Regions from separate parts of the Homo sapiens genome. Here all the other regions are linked to region 1. Evidence: promoter capture Hi-C in 16 types of primary human blood cells and fetal thymus (Javierre and others, 2016). All regions are on one chromosome and are shown on one strand. The core of a region is centred on a gene start or on the middle of the fragment in contact, and the rest is flanking DNA. Distances in the headings are between cores, read along the strand shown.

What was found. The method cuts DNA at HindIII sites, captures the fragments that hold promoters and counts their contacts. A CHiCAGO score of 5 or more calls a contact.
Region 2: a contact is called between a fragment that was not itself captured here and the fragment with the promoter of TAMM41 in region 1, in 1 of 17 cell types (fetal thymus). The highest score is 5.4, in fetal thymus.
Region 3: a fragment that was not itself captured here is called in contact with the fragment with the promoter of TAMM41 in region 1 in 2 of 17 cell types (fetal thymus and total CD4 T cells); the score reaches 6.4 in fetal thymus.

What each region holds. Positions count from the first base shown.
Region 1 is chr3:11,845,477-11,849,927 of GRCh38, reverse strand. TAMM41 (TAM41 mitochondrial translocator assembly and maintenance homolog) reads left to right here and starts at 3,043. Exons shown (of 8, transcript NM_001284401.2): 1 at 3,043-3,426. The coding sequence starts at 3,292. The HindIII fragment of the contact is 19,949 bases long and covers 1-4,451 here.
Region 2 is chr3:11,361,036-11,365,486 of GRCh38, reverse strand. ATG7 (autophagy related 7) reads right to left here. Exons shown (of 21, transcript NM_001349232.2): 17 at 2,559-2,674; 18 at 753-828. Among named protein-coding and RNA genes, the nearest start is that of ATG7, 91 kb to the right of the region's middle. RefSeq lists an enhancer at 7-1,206. The HindIII fragment of the contact is 878 bases long and covers 1,646-2,523 here.
Region 3 is chr3:11,379,972-11,384,422 of GRCh38, reverse strand. ATG7 (autophagy related 7) reads right to left here. Exons shown (of 21, transcript NM_001349232.2): 19 at 4,371-4,451. Among named protein-coding and RNA genes, the nearest start is that of ATG7, 110 kb to the right of the region's middle. The HindIII fragment of the contact is 1,202 bases long and covers 1,612-2,813 here.

The DNA.
Region 1 (4,451 bases), core at 1,794-4,293:
CCTGTAACCCCAGCACTTTGGGAGGCCGAGGCGGGTGGATCACTTGAGGTCAGGAGTTCGAGACCAGCCTGGCCAACATAGTGAAACCCCTGTCTCTACGAAAAATACAAAACTTAGCCAGATGTGGTGGCGGGCACCTGTAATCCCAGCTACTCAGGAGGCTGAGGCAGGAGAATCACTTCAACCCGGATGGTGGAGGTTGCAGGGAGCCTAGATTGTGCCACTGCACTCCAGCCTGGGTGACAGAGCAAGACTCGCTCTCAAAAAAAAAAAAAAAAAAAGAAAGAAACAAAAGAAAAGAAGAAAGAAAGAAAGAGAAAGAAAATGTTTAAACACTTTCTTTTAAACAAAAAATTTTAAACAAAATTATGGCATATCCATATCTTAGAATAATTTGCTACTAATACATGGAATGAGGGAAATCTATATATTCTGACACAGAACATTGTCCCTGATACGCTAAGTGCAAAAAAAGCAAATTGCAAAATAGTATCTATCCTAGGAATCCACTTAAAATTGTTTTTAATGTTAATATATTCATAGAAAAATATTGGAAGGAATATGTGCCAAAGATTACCGTGGCTATTTCTGGGGCATGATGTATGTATTTCATAATGTTTACATTTTTATGAACATGGATTACTTTTGCAAACAGGAAAAATCCAATGACGTTGAATTATTTCCCCAAGGGAAGGAAGGAAATAAAAAAGGAACCGGCTGGTAATGAGATTTATTCACTGTCTTTGGGTGAGAGGCTTCAGTGTAATTCCACGGTGAGTGCACTCTGATTCCGGCACCCTGGGCAAGGGCGATATGTAGTAAAAATGAACGGAAGTGACCATGCCCACACCAGGGGCCGCAGACAAACGGCCTCTCTCCGCTCCCTTGCCCTGGTCTCCTGCTTGTTGCTGCGGCTACTGCTGCTGCTCCTGACTCTTGGCTGATGCCTGAGTGCCTGCTTTCTTCCCATTTCCTTCTCTCACCCTGCAAGCCGCTGTAGAGGACACTTAAACATGGTGGTAAAGACCTTGGCCTTTAGAGGTAGGTAGCCCTAGGTTCAAACCCCGACTTCACCACTTTCCTGTGTGACTTTGGAACATTTACTGCTCCTCTTAGGACCTCTGTTTCCTCGTATGAAAAATATCATCATCTTAGAGAACCTGCCTCATAGGATCTCTGGAGTGATGAAAAGAAACAAGTATAAAAAGCCTGGGTGCAGTGGCTCACGCCTGTAATTCCAGCACTTTGGGAGGCTGAGGTGGGCAAATCACTAGAGGTCAGGATTTCGAGACCAGCCTGGCCAACACAGTGAAACCCCATCTCTACTAAAAATACAACAATTAGCCAGGCATGCTTGCTTGAACCCAGGAGGCAGAGGTCACAGTGAGCTGAGATCGTGCCACTGCACTCCAGCCTGGGCAACAGAGCAAGACTCGGTCTCAAAAAAAAAACAAAAACAGAAAAGCCCCAAAGAAGTCTAAAAAGTGCCTGGGCATACTAAGTGCTTAATAATGACACCTATTATTAGTATTATTGTCACCGAGTCCTTTCAATTCTTTCTTGGTTGAATTTTCCCATCTATCTTCTACCTGATAAACTCCTACCCAGCTTCCAGGCCTGGCTCAAAATGCCATCATTGTGAAACCTCTTCTGGTCCCTTTCCCCAACACCCAGAACTGACTGACGTTCCCATTGGAGGGACATTACATTCCGGCACTGTGCTGGGTACCTGGCTGCATTACCCAAATTCTACTCTGATTTGCAGTTCTGTCTCCTCTCCTCTACAGACCCCTAGCTCCTGCAGGGCAGCAGGCAGCTCAGATCTCTTCATCTCAGTGCAGGCCCAGAGTGTGAGTGCAAGTAATCATTTTTCCAATTGATTTAATCCCATCCCTGCTCCTAAGACCTTGGCCTAGCCGTTTCCAGTTCATGGGGGAACTATGATAACAACTGTCTAATCAGTCCCCCACAATTCAGGCTAACATGTGAATTACATAAGTCCTTGCTCAAAACCCTTCAAGGACAGAGCAGAATTTCCGAAAAAATCCCAGAGTTGGAGCCAGACCTGGGTTTAGCTCTAGTTTTGCCACAGGCTGATGTGATCCTATCACCTGGCTTTACCTCTCTAAGCCTTAGCTTGGCCATCAGTAAAACCAAGGCCCTCCTGCCACAGGGCACTAGAGGGTGCTCAGTGAGAAGTGCATGTGAAAATGTGTCAACATTACCTGAATGTTAGCTATTACTATTTCTATTATTTTTGAGAGGTAGTGTATTTTGGGGAGGAAGGAGAGGGTAGTTGAAAAAGTTTCTGTCCTGGAAGTCAAACCACCTCCTGAATGGTAATCTTCAGCAAGTTTCTCCAGTTATACAAAGAGGAGAGCTGTAAGATTTTTCTACTCCTAGGGTCCTGTTTCCTCCAGAAACTGCATTTGAAGCACCCTTTGTGAGACCATTCCACAAGGCAAGGGGGCAAAAACTGTGATCCACCCTTGAAATTAAATGCAAGTATCAGAGAACGTCTGTGCACTCCCATATCCACCCTTGTATTTGAAAAGGGCTTTAGCGTGAAGAAGTCTCCGTCAAATCTTGACGGTGGTATTCTCTACATGGCGGGATTGGGCATCATTTTAATTTTGTGTTTTTCCAAATCTTCGAAATCTGCAATTTTGGAACTAGAGCGATGATGGGGGCACAATATTGTGAAGGCACTACATGCTACTACACTGTCCATTTCAGAACGGCTAGTTCCATATTATGTGAGTGTCGCCTCACTTAAAAACCTTCAATACGCTCCCGATTTTATAGTCATTCTTTAAACCGTAGTTTGAAGAGAGAAGTACAGAGGCTATCAAGGCTCAGGGCCCGCGGAGTCGGGTGACGCTCGCCTCCGCCGATTTGTCCAAGTCGCAACCTAGCCGCCAGCCTGTAGGGCACTCCTCCGACCACGAGGGGACAATGCAAAGCCTCGCGTTCCCCACACTAAGGCGAGCACCGCCTCTTGCGTCTTGGAAGCGCCTGTGCGTGCGTGGGGCGTAGCAAGGGACGGAAGCTCTGCCTGTGCGACCGCCGCCCACCCGAGCCTATCTGGGCTGCGTCTTCTCGCCGCTGCTCTTCGTGGCCCAACGCCCCAATCCTTGCGTGTGCTTGCAGTCCCACCCCACACTCAGCCTTGTGTCCCTCGATCCAGTCTCCGACTTCCATTTCCCACCCTAAACCGCCTACCCGGTGTCTGTTCCCCGCCCGGTTGTCCTCGCCCTGCTGCGCTGAGTGTCCCCTGTTAGCCTCGACCCCATGGCGCTGCAGACGCTGCAGAGCTCGTGGGTGACCTTCCGCAAGATCCTGTCTCACTTCCCCGAGGAGCTGAGTCTGGCTTTCGTCTACGGCTCCGGGGTGTACCGCCAGGCAGGGCCGAGTTCAGACCAGAAGGTGAGCCCGGGCAGCCCCACGACGGGGAACTGTCTGTTCTCACGAGTCCCGTTTTGCCCTCGATTCCTTCAGAGTCGGAGAGCTGCCTGTCCGCTCTGCACACTCCACGTGTCCACTAGCAGAGTGAACCATAGGCCTGCCTTCCTAGTATAACGACAGCGCGAGTTGAAGCGACGGTGTTGAAGGATACTTAGGAATCCACGTGGGTCTAGAGCAGGAGAAGCAGTTAGGCAGAAGGAAAAACTGCTGCAGGGGCAAATGGAAGAAAGGAAAAGAAATCGTTATCAGGTTCTTTCAGTGTTTTAGTCGGCTGGACATCGGAATTTTCTGGGGAGCTTTTAAGAAAATCCTAATGCTCGGCTTCCGCCGATGGAGATTCTGATTTAATTGGTTTGGGATGAGGCCTGGGCTTCAGGAATTTAAGAAACGTCCCAGGTGATTCTAATGCGCAGCCAAGTTTGTTGAGAGTCACCTCTATAAATGTAGGAGAAAATGCAAAATGATCTTCTGACTTCAGGAAGTTGGCGGACTGGTTGTAGGGCCAGGGCAGGTGCAGTGAAAGTAACTAACATCAAAAGTTAGTGCGTGACCAGTGTATTTACCCTCGCTCAGCACTTTTAACAACGGTCTGTTTGAGACTAGGCATTGTTACTTTTCAGAGTTGGCTCAGCACAGCCTCAGTAAGGGTACAGTTTTCCTTGTAATTTGCAGAATTCAGTGTGCAGGTTTTAATGGGGCCCCCTGCGTCTGGATACCTGACTGTAGTCTGTCTTCTGATTAACATCCTGCCTGTTCACTTCCTGGTGAGGCCATCTATGCTGTTGCTTGGATTTCCTCTGTTTCCCACTTACACTACTATTTAATATTTTTCTTTAAATTGGCAGCATATGAGAAATTATAGGTTATTATAGGCTAGTTATTTTTCCCGAATTTACCTTAACATAATTACACATTTTTAAAAAACATGTTTATTCCATACCTGCCTCGCCACCAAATCTCAAGTGTCCCCAGTGGTCTGTAGAGTC
Region 2 (4,451 bases), core at 835-3,334, 480 kb after region 1:
TCTTCAATCTCCCAAAAATATAGTAATGAAAATGACTGAAGAGGCAACATGAATTCTAAAAGATCATCCCACTGCCTTTTTCTTTTTACTCCCTAAGGGATGGAACTTCCTCATGATGCTTTGGATTCTTTTTCTGAAAAGACACCCCACTTTTTGGTGACCCTGCATGCTTCTAATGTTTTTCTCATGCCTGCCTATAAAGGTTTTCTATTTGGGTTCAGAGTCAATAATAATAACAAGCAACAGTAAAGAAACAGCAGGCATTGTTTGTTGAGGGCCTATGATATACACTGTTGCTGAGCCCTTTCTAGCAACCATCCATAATCCATACAACTACCAGGTGATGTCAGCATTACCTTCTCTATGTTACAGATAAGAAAACTAAGCCTCAGAGAAGTTTAGTGACTTGGCCAAAGAAGGCCATCTTTATAACGGCAGGGCTGGGATTTAAACCATTGTATGACTGATTCCAAAGCCTGTTTTTTCTGTTCCTATTGCATTATGAGGCCTCTAGTCAGTTTACAAAACGCATCAAAGACTCTGGGCAATGCTTCTCGTTCGTGATTTCCTCCCATCACTATCCCGCAGAATGGAATACCTTCCAGGTGGTCAGAAAGCTCTCCCATTGAAATCCCAGCTGCAGGGTAAGTAGGGTGGATATGAAGTGGGCTGGGCAGATGGAATGGCAAAGAGACCCCACATGCTTTCCCCCTGTACCAAAAGAATTGTGATTTCACTTCCACATCACTAACCTGGTGAGGCACAAGCCCAAGAGAGGTTGGAGGCTCATTCATCCGATCGTCACTGCTGCTGGCAATGGCATAGCCCCTGAGGACAGGAAACAATCAGAGCTGCTCATTTAATCCAAGTTTAACACATGGGAGGATGATCTAGCAGAAATCTACATAAGATTCATAAGGATAACTAAAATGCCCCTTGCTGGGCAGTGTAAGTTAGCAAAAAACTAATTTCCCTGGGACAAAGGGCAAGAAGAGTAATTTAAACATGCATGGTTTGGAGTCAGAAAGACCTGAGCTTGTGACCATAGGCAAGTTGCTTAACTTTTCTGTGCTTCAGATCCATCATCTATAAAGTAGGAATGAGGGAGCTCTGATTAATAAATGAGGAATCTACTACATCAACTGCCGAGTGCAATGTTCGGCATATCAGAGGCCAATAAACATTAACTCACTTACTATGAAATAGTCTTGTCAAACATCACAGCACATTTCTGTACTGAAAATTTGAAGTGGAAAATTTTCTAACCTTAACTTCTTGAGCTGATATAAATGCTAATGAAATGGAAGAAATAAAAGTGAAGAATGAATTGGGCAGAACTAATACACTACTCTCTGAACAATGGAGTGATACTTGTGGCACCAAAAAGATGTGACACAGGACCTGGTGTTTAAACTATGACCAGGGCAAATGTGGCAGACAGAGGCTCAGTGTCAAGGAAGCATAAAGTCAGCTCTCAAAGATTTTATCCCAAATACTTCCTGTCAGAGAGTGGCAATAAACTTAAATGACAGATAGCTAAGGTGGATGACAAAGAGGAAGACAAAAAAGCCCCGCTTTTCATTTATCTCAGAGTACCCATACTAGTTACATATACAACCACAATTTTCAACTGCTGAGGAAAGCTTTGAGTCACACAAGAAATAGAATATTCATGTTAATTTGCATATTGACTTTCTGAGAACTGGAAAAATAAATCTTTCAAAAATTCGATTTTCTGCTGCCTGTATTGCAAACAGCATAACAAAGTCATTAAACATAGTCTGGAGCCACACTGGTTGAGCTAAACCCTGGCTTTTCCATTTACTATGTAAATTTGGCCACTTACTTATCCTCACTATGCCTTGATTTCCCCATCAAAACTGCGACTAATAATAATAGTTCTTTCCTAATATGTTTGCTATGAAGATTAAAGGAGGCCGGGTGCAATGGCTCACGCCTGTAATCCCAACACTTTGGGAGGATAAGGTGGGTGAATCACTTCTGATCACTGAGGTCAGAGGTTCAAGACTAGCCTGACCAACATGGCAAAACCCCATCTCTACTAAAAATACAAAAATCAGCCGGGCATGGTGGCGTATGCCTGTAATTCCAGCTACTTGGGAGGCTGAGGCAGGAGAATCACTTGAACCTAGAAGGCAGAGGTTGCAGTGAGCCAAAATCGTGCCATTACACTCCAGCCTGGGCAACAAGAGCGAAATTCCGTCTCGTTAAAAAAAAAAAAAAAGATTGAAGGAGGCAAAATTTCTAAGGTGCTTAGAACAGTGCCTAGCACAAAGTAAGCCCTATATAAGCGTTGGAAAAATAAAATAAACCATAGTGACTTTGTCCGGAAAGATGCAGAAATGTGGCCACAAAGGAAACATGCCAAGTTATCTCAGCCCAAAGAACCAGACCTGCTTTTTCTAGTCTTGTTTTTTTGAGGGTGAAATAGTGAAATTCTCTGTAAAGTCAGACTGAGAAAAGGCCATGGGAGACACTGATGAACAACTGCCTACAAAAGCTTTGTTTAAATACTCATCTCCTACTAGCAAACTCACCCTTCTGGATGCTGCAAAACAGATACCATCAATTCCACGGCCAGGGCTCCTGCAATCACGGCCAGTCCTGGACGACTCACAGTGCACTGCTGGTCCAAGGTCCGGTCTCTGGTTGACTGCAAAGAAACAATCATTGGTGTGTGCAGAACGTTCTACTCCATTCAACTCTAGCTGTCTCAAGTATGAAATCCTCTGTGACAAAGCTTTAAATTATAACCAGATGCTCATTGTTGGCAAAGAACATCCAGCCTCAAGTACATCATTTCTTGAGATTATCAAGATAAACAAAATATACAATTTAGGTAACTAAATGAGGTGATATGCTAAAAAGGATCAGTAGCCTAAACAGATTGGGGGATATTAACCAAAAATGAGGGCTTAGCTGCCTCATATAATGGAACTGCATCATGTGTTCCTTTAAGTGACTCAATTCAGTTCTACTGTGCTTGGTAGTTAAGTGACAGAGACACAGAAAGGAACAATGATTTGAAAAGTGCAAATGATTCTGCCCTGCCATTTTAACTGAGCTAACACCTCAAAGTGACCGTGAGATGGGAGCAACAATTTACTATTCCTGCGGCCCTCAGTTCCTATGTGCCTCTCACAACATGGGCATCACCTCTCTGTGTGATTCTAGGGTTTACTACAAGTATTTTTTTTTTCTACAACATGGCTCTAAGCACAAGCCTTTGCTGGTTCAACCAAAGAGAGTCTAACCATCCAACTCTGGGCAAATTAAGAGGTTGTTAGAGATATTTTTGACTCTATAAAAATTTTACCTTATGAGCAGATGGGACTTTACTGCAAGGGACCACTAATCGTATTTGTTGACAATCACTAAATAACAAGACCAGCTATATATTATAACACCATAACAGAGATCATCAAGCCATCTTTCTCCATAAAAGAGAATGGTCATCTTCTTTTCTTTATATTGGGAGGGCATAAAAGCCAGTCATCCAAAAGAGATATGAGTTATTAAGGGAAAAGTTTTAAAACAAAGGAAAAATAGAGGGGAGGTTACAGAAAACATCTCTGCATTGTTTCACTGGAAATCGTTATCTGTTCTGATAAAGGAACAGACCTACATACAGACTGACTTGTGTGGAGTTCTGAAAGTCATAGAATCTTAATTTGTACAGTGTAGTCTTGCTGTTCAAAGCACTGTCGCACTTGACCCACTTTGCACTGTGAGTTGACAGGGCAGGTATTCTTCCCTCCTCTATTAGCATTGCTAGGGAGAATACAAGACACTCAGTTAAATTTGAATTTCAGATAAATAAATTTTTAGTATAAGTGGGTCTTGAATATTGCATGGGACATATACCAAAAAATTATTCATTATTGGCTAAGCGTGGTGGCTCACACCTGTAATCCCAGCACTTTGGGAGACTGAGGCAGGTGGATCACGAGGTCAGGAGTTCGAGACCAGCCAGACCAACATGGTGAAACCCCGTCTCTACTAAAAATACAAAAATTAGCTGGGCATGGTGGCACACACCTGTAATCTCAGCTACTCAGGAGGCTGAGGCAGGAGAATCACTTGAACCCAGGAGGCAGAGGTTGCAGGGAGCCGAGATTGTGCCACTGCACTCGAGCCTGGGTGACAGGGCGAAACTCTGTCTCAAAAAAAAAAAAAAAAGAATTCATTATTAACTGAAATTCAAAGTTAGCTGGGAATCCTATATTTTTACTTACTAAATCTGACAAGCCTACACATCACTCCTATTTTGCAAAGGTAGAGGGAACCTAAGAGACTTTTTAGAACTACCTGGGAGGCAGTGTCAAGCCATTGATGGAATCTGGTCTTTAGACTCCTGATTTGTAATGTTATCTTGACTAAGAGAAGCACCGGAGACAATACGGAGTGCTATCAGGGACTAGTCTGCTGTG
Region 3 (4,451 bases), core at 963-3,462, 460 kb after region 1:
TCAACACCAGAATGAGTGTATTATTAAGGTTGCTAATCACTGAAATCTCAAGATCAGGTTTCTGGGCACATCTTGCTGCATCTGCGCAGGTCCCAGATGGTATGCAAACCAAGTTTGGAGCCTGATTCTTCACAACAGGCTGTTCTTGCACTATCAAGAAGGTTGTGAGTAATAGAATTGTGCAACAAGAGCAAGAATACTCTGCACGCAGTCTCCTCCTGCACAGTCCTGCTCCTGACTCTGCAGGTCTGAAAAAAGGTTTTGGTCAACTTCTGGGTACCAGAAACAAGGTTATTATTGCAAAGAACACCTGAAGCTGCCTAGCTTTACTCCTTTTAGAGAAGGACTAGTCATAATATACAACATACTTCCCCTTCCCCCAGAATTGACTGGGAAAGGGTACCTGGGAACTTTCTGGAGTGATGGAAAAACACTAATATCTTGATAGGAAGAGTGTGGGTTACATGGGTGTATACATTTGTTAAAACTTACGGAGTTGTTTTAAGATTCATACATTTCACCATATATAAATTTTACCTAGGAAAAAAAGAACTATGCACAAATAGGAACTGAAGGTTCTAGGTTTATTTTCTGTAGTAGTATGGGCTAGCAATTTTGAAACTACTTCCTGTATTATTCTAGACTTCAGCAAGTGAGTAAATATATCCAGGATACGGCTGGATGCGGTGGCTCACGCCTGTAATCTCAGCACTTTGGGAGGCTGAGGCGGGCGGATCACGAGGTCAGCAGTTAGAGACCAGCCTGGCCAATGGAGTGAAACCCTGTCTCTACTAAAAATACAAAAAATTAGCCAGGCATGGTGGCAAGTGCCTGTAGTCCCAGCTATTTGTGGGGCTGAGGCAGGAGAATCGCTTGAACCTGGGAGGCAGGCGGAGGTTGCAGTGAGCCGAGATTGCAGGTTTCTCACTGTTGGAGAAGGTAGTCAGAAATATGGAAAAGGGAAAACTAGCATCACCGAAAGGTATATAATATATTATATAACTCCTGACATGAGGAGACAGCATCACTTCTTTGGTATTTCCACCAAAAATTCATAACCTGAATCGAATCATAGGGAAACATCAGACAAATCCACATGGAGGGAAATTCTACAAAAATAACTGGCAAAATATCAAAACACTGAAGTTAAGAAAGATAAAGAAAGATGAAGTAACTTTTCCAGATTGAAGGGAGCCAGAGACACGACAACTAAATGCAATGTTTGATCCTCAACTGGATCCTGGTCTGGAAGGAAAAAACCTATAATGAACATTAACTGGTATAAACAACAACATTGAATACACAGACTGTGGATTAGAAAATAGTATTGTGCAAACATTAAATTGCCTGAATTTGATAAGGATATTGTGTTTAGGTAAGAGAATGTCTTTGTTCTTTGGAATTCACATTGAAGCATTCAGTTTTAAAGGATCAGAATGTCTCCAACTTACTCTCAAAATTTCAAGAAAAAAATGGGGTAGGGGAAGGGAAGAAGGAGGGATTGGAGGACGACAGCAAATATACGTGGGGCAAAATGTTAACAATGGATGAATGTGGGTAAAGTGTATACCGGAGTTCCTTGTACTATTCTTCCAATGTTTCTGTTAAGCTTAAAATTATATCAATAGAAAGTTACCCAAAAATACTCTGCCAAAAAATATTTAGGTGAAAGTCTAACAATAACAAAGTAATTTAATGCACTACAGGAAATTCTTTCAGGAATATTGATTTTAAAAATTATACTTTTCCCTCTGGTAGTAACACCACAATACTCTAGTTAGCTTGGAATTTCTTTGTAGAAGTAAAGAGCAACTCATATAAACGTCAAATAAGGTCTTTTGAAATTTCATTGACAAATACCATCTGTTTAGAAAGTTCTGCAAGACAATAAGTAGAAACTGGAATGAAAGTGACTCCTCACCACCCACCTCTCCCCACCATCCTTCAATATTTTTCCCCTAAGATGGAACAATTCACCTCGTTATGTGCCAACCTAAGATCACATAGGATAAGAAATGATTTATGGATAAATGTTCCAACTTTCCTGCTTTAGAAGCAAAGCACTGTATTCTTCCCCACCTCAGGCTACATAAAAAGCTCTCGCTCGCGTGCGTGCGTGCTCGCACTCTCTCTCTCTATATATATGTGTATATAATGTATTGCTTTGTTTGTTTTTAATAAATAAGATAATGAACAAGTGCTTCACTATTCAGCAGAAACTTATTCTACTTCCCCAGTCTGTCTCTATTTGTGGTTAAATCAAGACACAAGCATGGCCTTGATCCTGGTGGGGAGGAGGAAACATACTGAAAACTACCAAAGGAAAAAATTACTTCATGAATGTCAAAGGATAAATTTTTAAAAGTAATTTTTAGCCCCAATCTTTTGAAACAACAACTATGACATGACTCTGTATAACATGTATTATACTAAATATACATTAAGAAAAATTCAAATACACAGAAATGAAAATGTAATTGGATTTGTCATTTTAAAGTATTAATGTTGGGTTTGCAGATAATAGAGAATGACAATCTCCTAAGCAAATAAAGAAGGTAGCCAAGTAAGTAAATGCTGCGTTTCTACTGTAAGGAAATACGTGCACCAATGAAGCAACCTTTCCAGGACAAAAGAAATTTAATACTCAGACCACATGAAAAGTGACCGCTATGGGAATAGCACAGCTGTTAAAATCCAAGTCAGTTTGTATTAAATCGTCCAACATGTTTATGTAAAGCAGGACTCTCAAAATGATCACCAAGAGGAAATAATTTTGCTAACAAAAAAGTGATACCTATATTTAATTAAAAGCTTACAATAAGTGTGAAAGAAAAATGCTAAGCTATTCTCTTTTAAAGTATAAGGAACGCCCAGTTAGATGGTATGCTTGTGATTCTTTTATAAACAGTATCTGAAAGGCTAATTTAATTAGAAATAGAACAAGAATGAATGAGTGTTTGCATTTCACTTAGAGAACCCAATTATCTTTATTTCATTGACTAGCCAGACCAACATAAAGCCATAGAAAACCTGGCACCTGTGCCAAATGATTTCAGTATGAAAATTAATACTGCCAAGTTATTTTGAGACCAGTTAGCTCAACCATTCAAAGAAAAAAAAAATCTGCTCCACTAAAGATGTAGTATACAATCCTAAAACTTGCATTTCTGAAGATGGGGGTGCATGCAGACATCCTTGAGGTCCTGGCTTGAGCAGATATATCTTAAAGGAAACTACAGAAAGAATGGGCTCATGGGTAACTACTGACAAAGTCTAAGCTTGAAATCTCAACATAGGCACTTGGGATGCATAATAAAACAGGCTTAGTTTACTTCGGAAGCAAAAAGAAAATAATTAGTCTCAATTTTTGAGCATCTAAACGTAACCAAATTTATCAACATTGCTTGTCAATTCTACATTCAATTTTTAGAGAAACTGGTCAGGATTGTGCTTCCCATAAAATATAGCCCAAGTACAGTTTTCAAAGGAAGCTTGTCAACTCAGAATAGAGAAATACATCCCTAGAATTCTCTTTCTTCCACAGTGGCAGACAGACGAAGGCTACACGAAAAATAGTTCCAAATTGTAACTGAGAAGCCACAGTTGGGGATTAGTGGTCACCAACATTATTTTGTATAGCACTTCAACATGAAAATCTTTACTTATCAGCAATCATGAGCCTTAAAAGCCCAGGTCAAGTCGCTGGGCAGCAGAAGGCTGAAAGGAACACTTGAAAGGAAATCAGCTATCACATACAGTGTGCATGTAAAAATCACTCAGATGGTATCCGAAAGCCTATTAAAACACGAGATGCCATCACTGTAGTTTTGAGATATATCAGCCGTTTCACATTACGATGGCTAACATACCAGCTCTATTTTTAGAGCTTCTGGAAAGATCAAAGCTGAAGGGGCCCTTTTAGTGGCTCCCCATCCAGGCCCCTAATCTCTGTTTACTTTTTCTTTGTAATTATGTGGATCTGCAGAAGATGCATAGCCAGGGCCGCCTCACCCTCAGAGTAACGCTTTAAAAAATTGCTCTATGAGGGTCCTGGCTAGGAGGGAACCCTCTGGGGAGGAACAAAGAGCAGTAAAGTTCAAATTCAAGACAAAATTAGCATGATGCAAGTATTGATACAGAGTTGAAATATTTTAACTCAGTCTCCCTACACATTTTCTCAGGCTGGTTTTAAACCACTGTGAGAATGAATACAGATCCATGAAAACAAAGTCCTTTCTGAGGGTTTAGACCCCACCCTTCCCCCACAAAAAGCCCTTAGTTGGTTTCAAGGGCTCCAGCTGGTGAGGCTGCGGTCAAATGCTGACCCGCTCACTTTTAAAAACAAGTCCCTCCAATACAAAATGACTTACTTTGGAAGAACAAGCTGTACATTTGTCAAATGCCAGGCTGACGGGAAGGACATTATCAAACCGTGAAAGAAATCCCCGGAT